2 separate regions of the Homo sapiens genome follow, and region 1 is linked to region 2. The links are contacts of gene promoters, found by promoter capture Hi-C in blood cells and fetal thymus (Javierre and others, 2016). All regions are on one chromosome and are shown on one strand. The core of a region is centred on a gene start or on the middle of the fragment in contact, and the rest is flanking DNA. Distances in the headings are between cores, read along the strand shown.

Evidence for each region. The method cuts DNA at HindIII sites, captures the fragments that hold promoters and counts their contacts. A CHiCAGO score of 5 or more calls a contact.
Region 1: a fragment that was not itself captured here is called in contact with the fragment with the promoter of F2R in region 2 in 1 of 17 cell types (megakaryocytes); the score reaches 6.2 in megakaryocytes.

Annotation. Positions count from the first base shown.
Region 1 is chr5:76,579,687-76,583,237 of GRCh38, forward strand. All of the region lies in intron 5 of IQGAP2 (IQ motif containing GTPase activating protein 2), which reads left to right. Among named protein-coding and RNA genes, the nearest start is that of F2RL2, 42 kb to the right of the region's middle. RefSeq lists an enhancer at 2,541-2,630. The HindIII fragment of the contact is 2,766 bases long and covers 1-2,720 here.
Region 2 is chr5:76,714,206-76,717,649 of GRCh38, forward strand. It overlaps F2R (coagulation factor II thrombin receptor), which reads left to right and starts at 1,921. Exons shown (of 2, transcript NM_001992.5): 1 at 1,921-2,190. The coding sequence starts at 2,103. RefSeq lists a silencer at 1,727-1,976. The HindIII fragment of the contact is 2,891 bases long and covers 274-3,164 here.

The DNA of each region.
Region 1 (3,551 bases), core at 88-2,587, 140 kb before region 2:
TTCTAGAGGTTTTCATCCCCTGGGAGACAAGGGATTGACTGTACCCAGTGATCCTTAGGCTTTTGGGCTGATTTATCATCTCAGATCATGTTTCTAGTCCTGCCTCCACTTAGTTAGTGGATGTGACCACCAGTGCTGGACCCTCTTTCTACCCGGTGTTTCTGTCACCACCTATGCTCCTTGGTTCTTCCTTATCTTGGGGCACTTCCTTTGTTTTCTGGGACTATTTAGTTTACTCAAAGTTCTTGGTCTTTATTCTTTCATGTAGTATAAATAGTATAAAAATATCTATATATAAACAAATATAGGCCAGGTGTTGTGGCTCATGCCTGTAATCCCAGCACTTTGGGAGGCTGAGGCAGGCAGATCATGTGAGGTCAGGAGTTTAAGATCAGCCTGGCCATGATGGTGAAACCTCATCTCTACCAAAAATACAAAAATTAGCCAGGTGTGGTGGCAGGTGCCTATAATCACAGCTACTCGGGAGGCTGAGGCAGGAGAATCGCTTGAACCTGGGAGGCGGAGGTTGCAGTGAGCTGAGACTGTGCCACTGCACTCTAGCCTGGGCAACAGAGGGAGACTCCATCTCAATTAAAAGAAAAAAAAAAAAGCATGGTGGCACACGCCTGTAGTCCCAGCTACTCGGGAGGCTGAGGCAGGAGAATAGACCCAGGAGGCGGAGATCACAATAAGCCAAGATCGCGCCACTGCACTCCAGCCTGGGCAACAGAGCGAGACTCCGTCTCAAAGAACAAAACAAAACAAAACAAAACAAACAAACAAAAAACAGATATAGAAGAAACAAAGTACTTGTGTTTTAATAATGCTCCCCAACTTGTTAAAGTCAATATAAATACACATTCGCTATTTATCTCTTTTTTTTATTACAACTTCCTTTTTGGACACTGTATATTATTCTCTTGATTATTGTTTTGAACCTGTGGCCTTTCTCAGACTTAACCAAGATTAATATCTCTTTCTTTTTGATGAACCAGATTGTTTCAGCTTGGTCAGTCTGAGCTCTTTCTGGCCCACTTCCTTGTCCTTCTAGCACCGTCCCTGACATTCTTTGAAATATCCTTGCTCGTGGTCACAACAGGATGTTCCAGTCCTATCCTGATTATTTCTGCTTTGAGATGTGGAACCACCACTCTCTAGGGATTCCTCTTAAAAGTCATGTGTTTATATTAATTTTTCAAGTTTAACCTTATTAGCTTACTGGATTCTGCTTTTCTTGCTGTCTAGTTCATTTGACCATTGAGATTCTTCTACATGGGCAGCCACAAACGGAAGCTATGTCTGCCTCTCCTCTGTGATAGGATTACTCTTCCCGCTGCTGATACTGTAGCTGTGTCGCAGCAGCCATGTTTTCAGGTGCAATGGTGATGCCATGGCTCTGGCAGACCCACTTCTGGTTCACCAGCCGTCCAGGTACTCTGGGAGCTTTGTGGAGTAGAGTTTGTCTAGCCAGCTCCCACACAGCCAGGTGGCTGTCTTGCTTACCAGGTGGCCTTTGAACCTGCTCCTCAGGCATTAATGCATAACTTTCCTTGTCTTAACACTCTGTTCCCTTAGAACCTTTTCCTTCCCTAAGAAACTGATTGAACCCTTATATCAGATTGATTATATCTCTAACAGTGAACATATTTGCATTTATAAATAAGATTTCCAAAGACAGTTTCTTAGCTCAAAGGACAGGCTCTAATCCTAGGTTCTCAGAAGGGATATCTGGAGATGGCAGTATTTGGAAGTAAGGTGAGGGAGGCAGTTGCACCTGCTTATTTCTTTCAAGTCCTTCCTTGCTCAGAATTCTCTCTGTGCTCTGAACCATTCCTTTCCCTTTCCTCCTCTTTCTGTCCTAAATTAGTATGGTGGTTATGCCTTTCTGTCTTCCTAAATTCTGAGCTCTTAAGAGACTATGAACCACATCTTGTTACTTCATACAGCTTACGTGCTATTGATTCCAAGTTAAAGTCTCTGGAGTTTGTATATTTAACTCTTCAGGAGGTTTAATTGAACTAATTTCTCTATGATAAGGCTACCTCAGGATTCCTTTGGTTTGGGGCTGAAAATTAGGTATAGAACCCTGGATTTTGATATGATATTGGCAGTGATATATGTGACTAAGATGGAAAAATTTGGTTCAGTAAATAAAACTATTTCAAACATGGAGTCTGTGGTGAAATAGAGATTCTTGGCATTGGAAAAAGTAAGAAAACCACTTTGATAGGTTATCAATAAGTGTTTGTATACAAAGGACACATTTATTTAACAAAGAATAGTAAGAACAAAGGTTAACACAAATGGAGCTTTTAACTATGTGCCTGGCACTGCACAAAATACTGTACTGGTATAATCTCATTTTATCTTCATAACATATCTGTGCAGTGGTCACTATTATTACTCCCATTTTATCACCAAGGCAGTTGAGGCACAGAGAGGCTGCCGAAGGTCACACAGTTAGTAAAAACCAGGATATGTGAGAACTGAACCTGTGCTATTATGAATTCAGCCAGCCAATGGCTTCAAAAGAAGTCAATTATTTCCCTACTTCTAAGAAAATTAAAAGAACACTGGTATCAGACTTGAACTTCAGCACAGGCCTCTCAGCTATTATATTTAACATGTTTTAAATGAAGAATCATGGAACTTGAGAAGGGGAAGGGCCTTGGGAAGTTATTGTAGTCTAAGTCATTCATTTCACAGATAAGGGAACTGAAAGCTTGGGTTACGTGACTTGCTCTTAGTCACACACTGAGGTTTTACCAGTTTTGGGACCAGGATTCAGCGCTTCTGGATTCTAGTCCTGTGGTCTTTCTGCTCTACCATGAGGCTTTGATATACAAACATTCATTCCACATGTTATAGTACAAAATGAGCTACACATAATGTGATCCAAGAAAGCTGAAATAAATTTAGCTCCTGCCTTTTAAGTTTGCATTTCATTACGATAGTACCTTTTAGTGTATATCCTGAAAGTATAGAAAAAACTAATACCACTAGTTTTATCTTGAAAGTGGTAGAAAAAACTAATGCCATGTGATATTGGCAGTAATGTATGTGACTAAGATGGAAAAATTTGGTTCAGTAGATAACAACTACTACTACTACTACTACTATATACTACTTTCATGATATACACTAAATGGTATTTTTTAAAACTTTCTTTATTGCTTCCTGGACTTTAAGTGATATTATTTGTACAAGTAGGAGCACATGGGTCAATGAGTCGGTAGCTACCTCTGGGCAACCCCTCCGTTGCTGGCCTCACTCAGCTGCACAGGTGTGCTGTAGCTTTTGGTGTGGTAGGAGGCTTGCTACCTCACAAAAAGTGCTCTCTTAGACATGAGAAGCAAAGGTGACATTAATTCCATGACTTCCTTTGGAATGCTCTCAGCCCTTTGACTTGGCTGTTAGGTACCAAACGGTGCTTAATAAATTAACTGTTGAAGAGCTACATGAGATTGGCACTTTTTCTATTCGATGGGCTTTTTTGTTTTTTAGATTAAGACTTGATTTCCTATATACTTCAGGTAATAAGCAGCCTCATT
Region 2 (3,444 bases), core at 671-3,170:
CATATGTGTTTATATTTTCCACTGTGTTTCATTGATTCTAAAATGCCTTTTCTTCATAACCCTGAAATTGGAGTGTTTCTTACAATCATTGGTATGTCACATTTTTTTCTGGCTTGTGGTAATGGGTTAAAATGATAAATTGTAAAATCAATGACGTCTTAGGAATAATGAAAAATAGTTTAATAGTGAATGAAGAACTATGTAATTTTAACTGTTCACATTTACTCTTGGGTATGTTTCCAGAGGATAACTGAACGGGGATAGATTTTAAAAAGCTTTATTTAACTGGGTACTTCCGCAATTTAGTGATCAACTTCTGTGTACAACAAGGTACTGTCCTTTGAGGATGATGGGAGAATACAGGGAAGAACGAAATCGCCTCTGATCGTACTTTCTCCACGGATGTAAGTGTCCGGGCTCTAGTGGGGGAATGATACTCTTCGTGCGAAATTCACTTTTAAAAAAGGCTTAGAAAACTGACCACCGGCTCTCAGCTGCAGCTTATCAACCACAGAACTCCGAATATGCCCGCACATCAGTGCGCTGGGTTAAGAGGAGAAGGGGCTGCGGCTGAGCTTTCCTAGAAACAGCTATTTGGGGACCCATTTCCTGTTGGAGTCTGAAAGGCGCACGCACCAGAGCCAGTGGCAAAGCAACTTAAGCTGCAGGCTCCTCCTGCCCACCCCCAGCCGCGACGCCCCTGGGGGCCCTTAGCAGACTGCCAAGCGAGTGTCCCCGCCCTGTGCCTTGAATTTAGCCAAACTCCTTTAATATCAGGCCTGGCGCGGTGATTCACGCCTGTAATCCCCGCACTTTAGGAGGCTGAGGCAGGAGGATCGCTTGAGGCCAGCAGTGAAATTAGCCGGACATGGTGGCGCGCGCCTTTCTGTGGTCCCAGGTAATCCGGAGGCTGGGGCGAAAGGGTGGCCTGAGCCAGGGAGATCGAGGCTGCAGTGAGCCGTGTTGGCGCCACTGCACTCCAGCCTGGGCGACAGGGCAAGACCCTGCCTCAAAAACAAAACAAACTGTAATATCGTTCAAGAACGTGTGAAGGACACTTGGAAAGTTACCAGGCCATTTCTCTCCTGGGCGCCCGCGGCCCTAGAACGCCGGCCTCACCGGCAGACGCGCGCCCTCCTCCCAGATGCGCAGGTGACCCCGGCGGGCGGCGCGGGAAAGGGAAGAGCTCCGCGAGGCCGCGCGGGGGGGAAGCGGGAGAAGCCGCTCTTCCTATTCCACTCGCAGTCTGCGTGTGGGGGAAACGAGTGCCCGGCGTATGAAACGCCTAACTTCGCGAAATAAAGAGAGACGTATAAAAGTTCAAGAATTCTGTCCAGACTCAAGGGCCCTTTCTCATTTAGGGGCAACCCTGTCACTACATCATAAACTTTTAAATCCGTGATCCCCACGTTACAAAAGCAGAAGTCCCTTTTAGACTTTTAGCGAAAACTGAACTTTGCCGGTGTCCCACACGGAGGGAGGGAGGACGGGAGGCCACGCCAGGGCTGCGGGGCTGCAGGGCGTGGACGCATCCTGGCCGGGGCGTCCACTGTCGACGTCTCCACATCCCAGGAGGGTCGAGACGGCCGCGGGAAGCAGCCTGCGAGCCGTGCGGCCCCATTCCAAGGACCCCGCCAGTGTGAGTCACTGACAGCTTCGCGAATCAACGGTGCCCAGAGGAAAAAACTTCTCATTTGGACTTCTAGGCCCGGCAGTGGCCGGCGGCCAGGGCCCCCCAGTAGGGCAGGGCGGGGCGGGGCGGGGCGCACAGAGCCAGAGGGGCTTGCGAGCGGCGGCTGAGGGACCGCGGGGAGGGGGCGCCGAGCGGCTCCAGCGCAGAGACTCTCACTGCACGCCGGAGGGCGCCCTTCCTCGCTCGCGCCCGCGCGACCGCGCGCCCCAGTCCCGCCCCGCCCCGCTAACCGCCCCAGACACAGCGCTCGCCGAGGGTCGCTTGGACCCTGATCTTACCCGTGGGCACCCTGCGCTCTGCCTGCCGCGAAGACCGGCTCCCCGACCCGCAGAAGTCAGGAGAGAGGGTGAAGCGGAGCAGCCCGAGGCGGGGCAGCCTCCCGGAGCAGCGCCGCGCAGAGCCCGGGACAATGGGGCCGCGGCGGCTGCTGCTGGTGGCCGCCTGCTTCAGTCTGTGCGGCCCGCTGTTGTCTGCCCGCACCCGGGCCCGCAGGCCAGGTGAGAGATGCACGGGAATGGGGTGCGCGGGCGGAGGGACGCCGAGGGGAGACTGCGGGGGTCACTGTTGCGCCTTCTCCTCACCCCTGCCTCAGTTTCCTCCGAAAGCCAAACTGGCATTTGGGCTGAGATCTGGAGTTTTTTCCAGTCACGTTTAGGTGGGGCGTGCCACCCCCTTCGCGGGCCCAGCCGATGCCCCTTTGGACTCGATCTTGGAGGGTGCAGCCCGCCTGCCACGGGGTGTTGGATATGGAGGAGGATGGAGCGGAAGCCCCCTGGGGGAGCCTGCAGTCCTGCGTTGCACTTGTCATTGTGTTTCTCCCAGGACCACCCCCAAAAAGAAAAGCTCTCACGTTGCTCCACCAATAAACGTTTCGATCTTTAAAATATAAAGTGGCGAACCGCTGCCGCTGAAGTTTTGCTTTGTTGGAAGTTTTTTTCTTGCACATTTTACAGGCGAGAAAAGTGATGTAGAGAAAAGCCCAGGCAGTCCCTTGGCATGTTTAGCAGAGAATCAGTACCAGCAGCCCCCGGCCCGGCCTTGTGTCCAGGAGGTGCGCAGGGTGCGAGATATATGGTGACAATAGCAGAGGCTCCGCGTGGTGGCGGGGGAGGGGACATGGAGAGGATTTTGTTGTTACCTAGAACCCATTCCTTCTAAGTGAGTTGAAGAGAGAGATCCCTCCCCAGGACCGGGCTCCCTCGAACACTGTGGGATCCCAGTATTTCTTAACGAGATTTCTGATCCACTGCAAGAAGGTTGCTCCCCTAGAATATTTTCCCCACTAGTAGTCTATTTTTAAGTATCTGGCCACTTGACCAAATAAATAAATTTGATTAATTTATTTGGTCAAATATTTTCTGTATCCCTTTCCCCAAGAGCAGCACAGATGAGTTGTTTTTAGCCTGTAAAGGCGCTAATTAGAAAGTGAGAAAAGTGTTTTTGAATTTCCTAATAACAATAGTATTTTATAAGCTTTGAGCCATTTTTTTTACGCTGAAAGAAGTTCTAGCGGGTTTTCTTGTTATCGCTAAAAGAATGTGCACTCTATATTGCTCCCACACTCAAAAAAAAGTGTAGACACATCAAGATTAAGAGGTGACAAAGACATAGCATGTTCTCGCCTCTCTGTCTTTGTTCAGGGTGAGTTTTGAGATGCTTTTGGGAAAACTAAGAGCTCCAGACTGGGGCCCAGTGTTTAGCAGTAACTAGCCTGCCTGCAGATAAGTGAGCATTGTTGCCGAAAGTGTTTG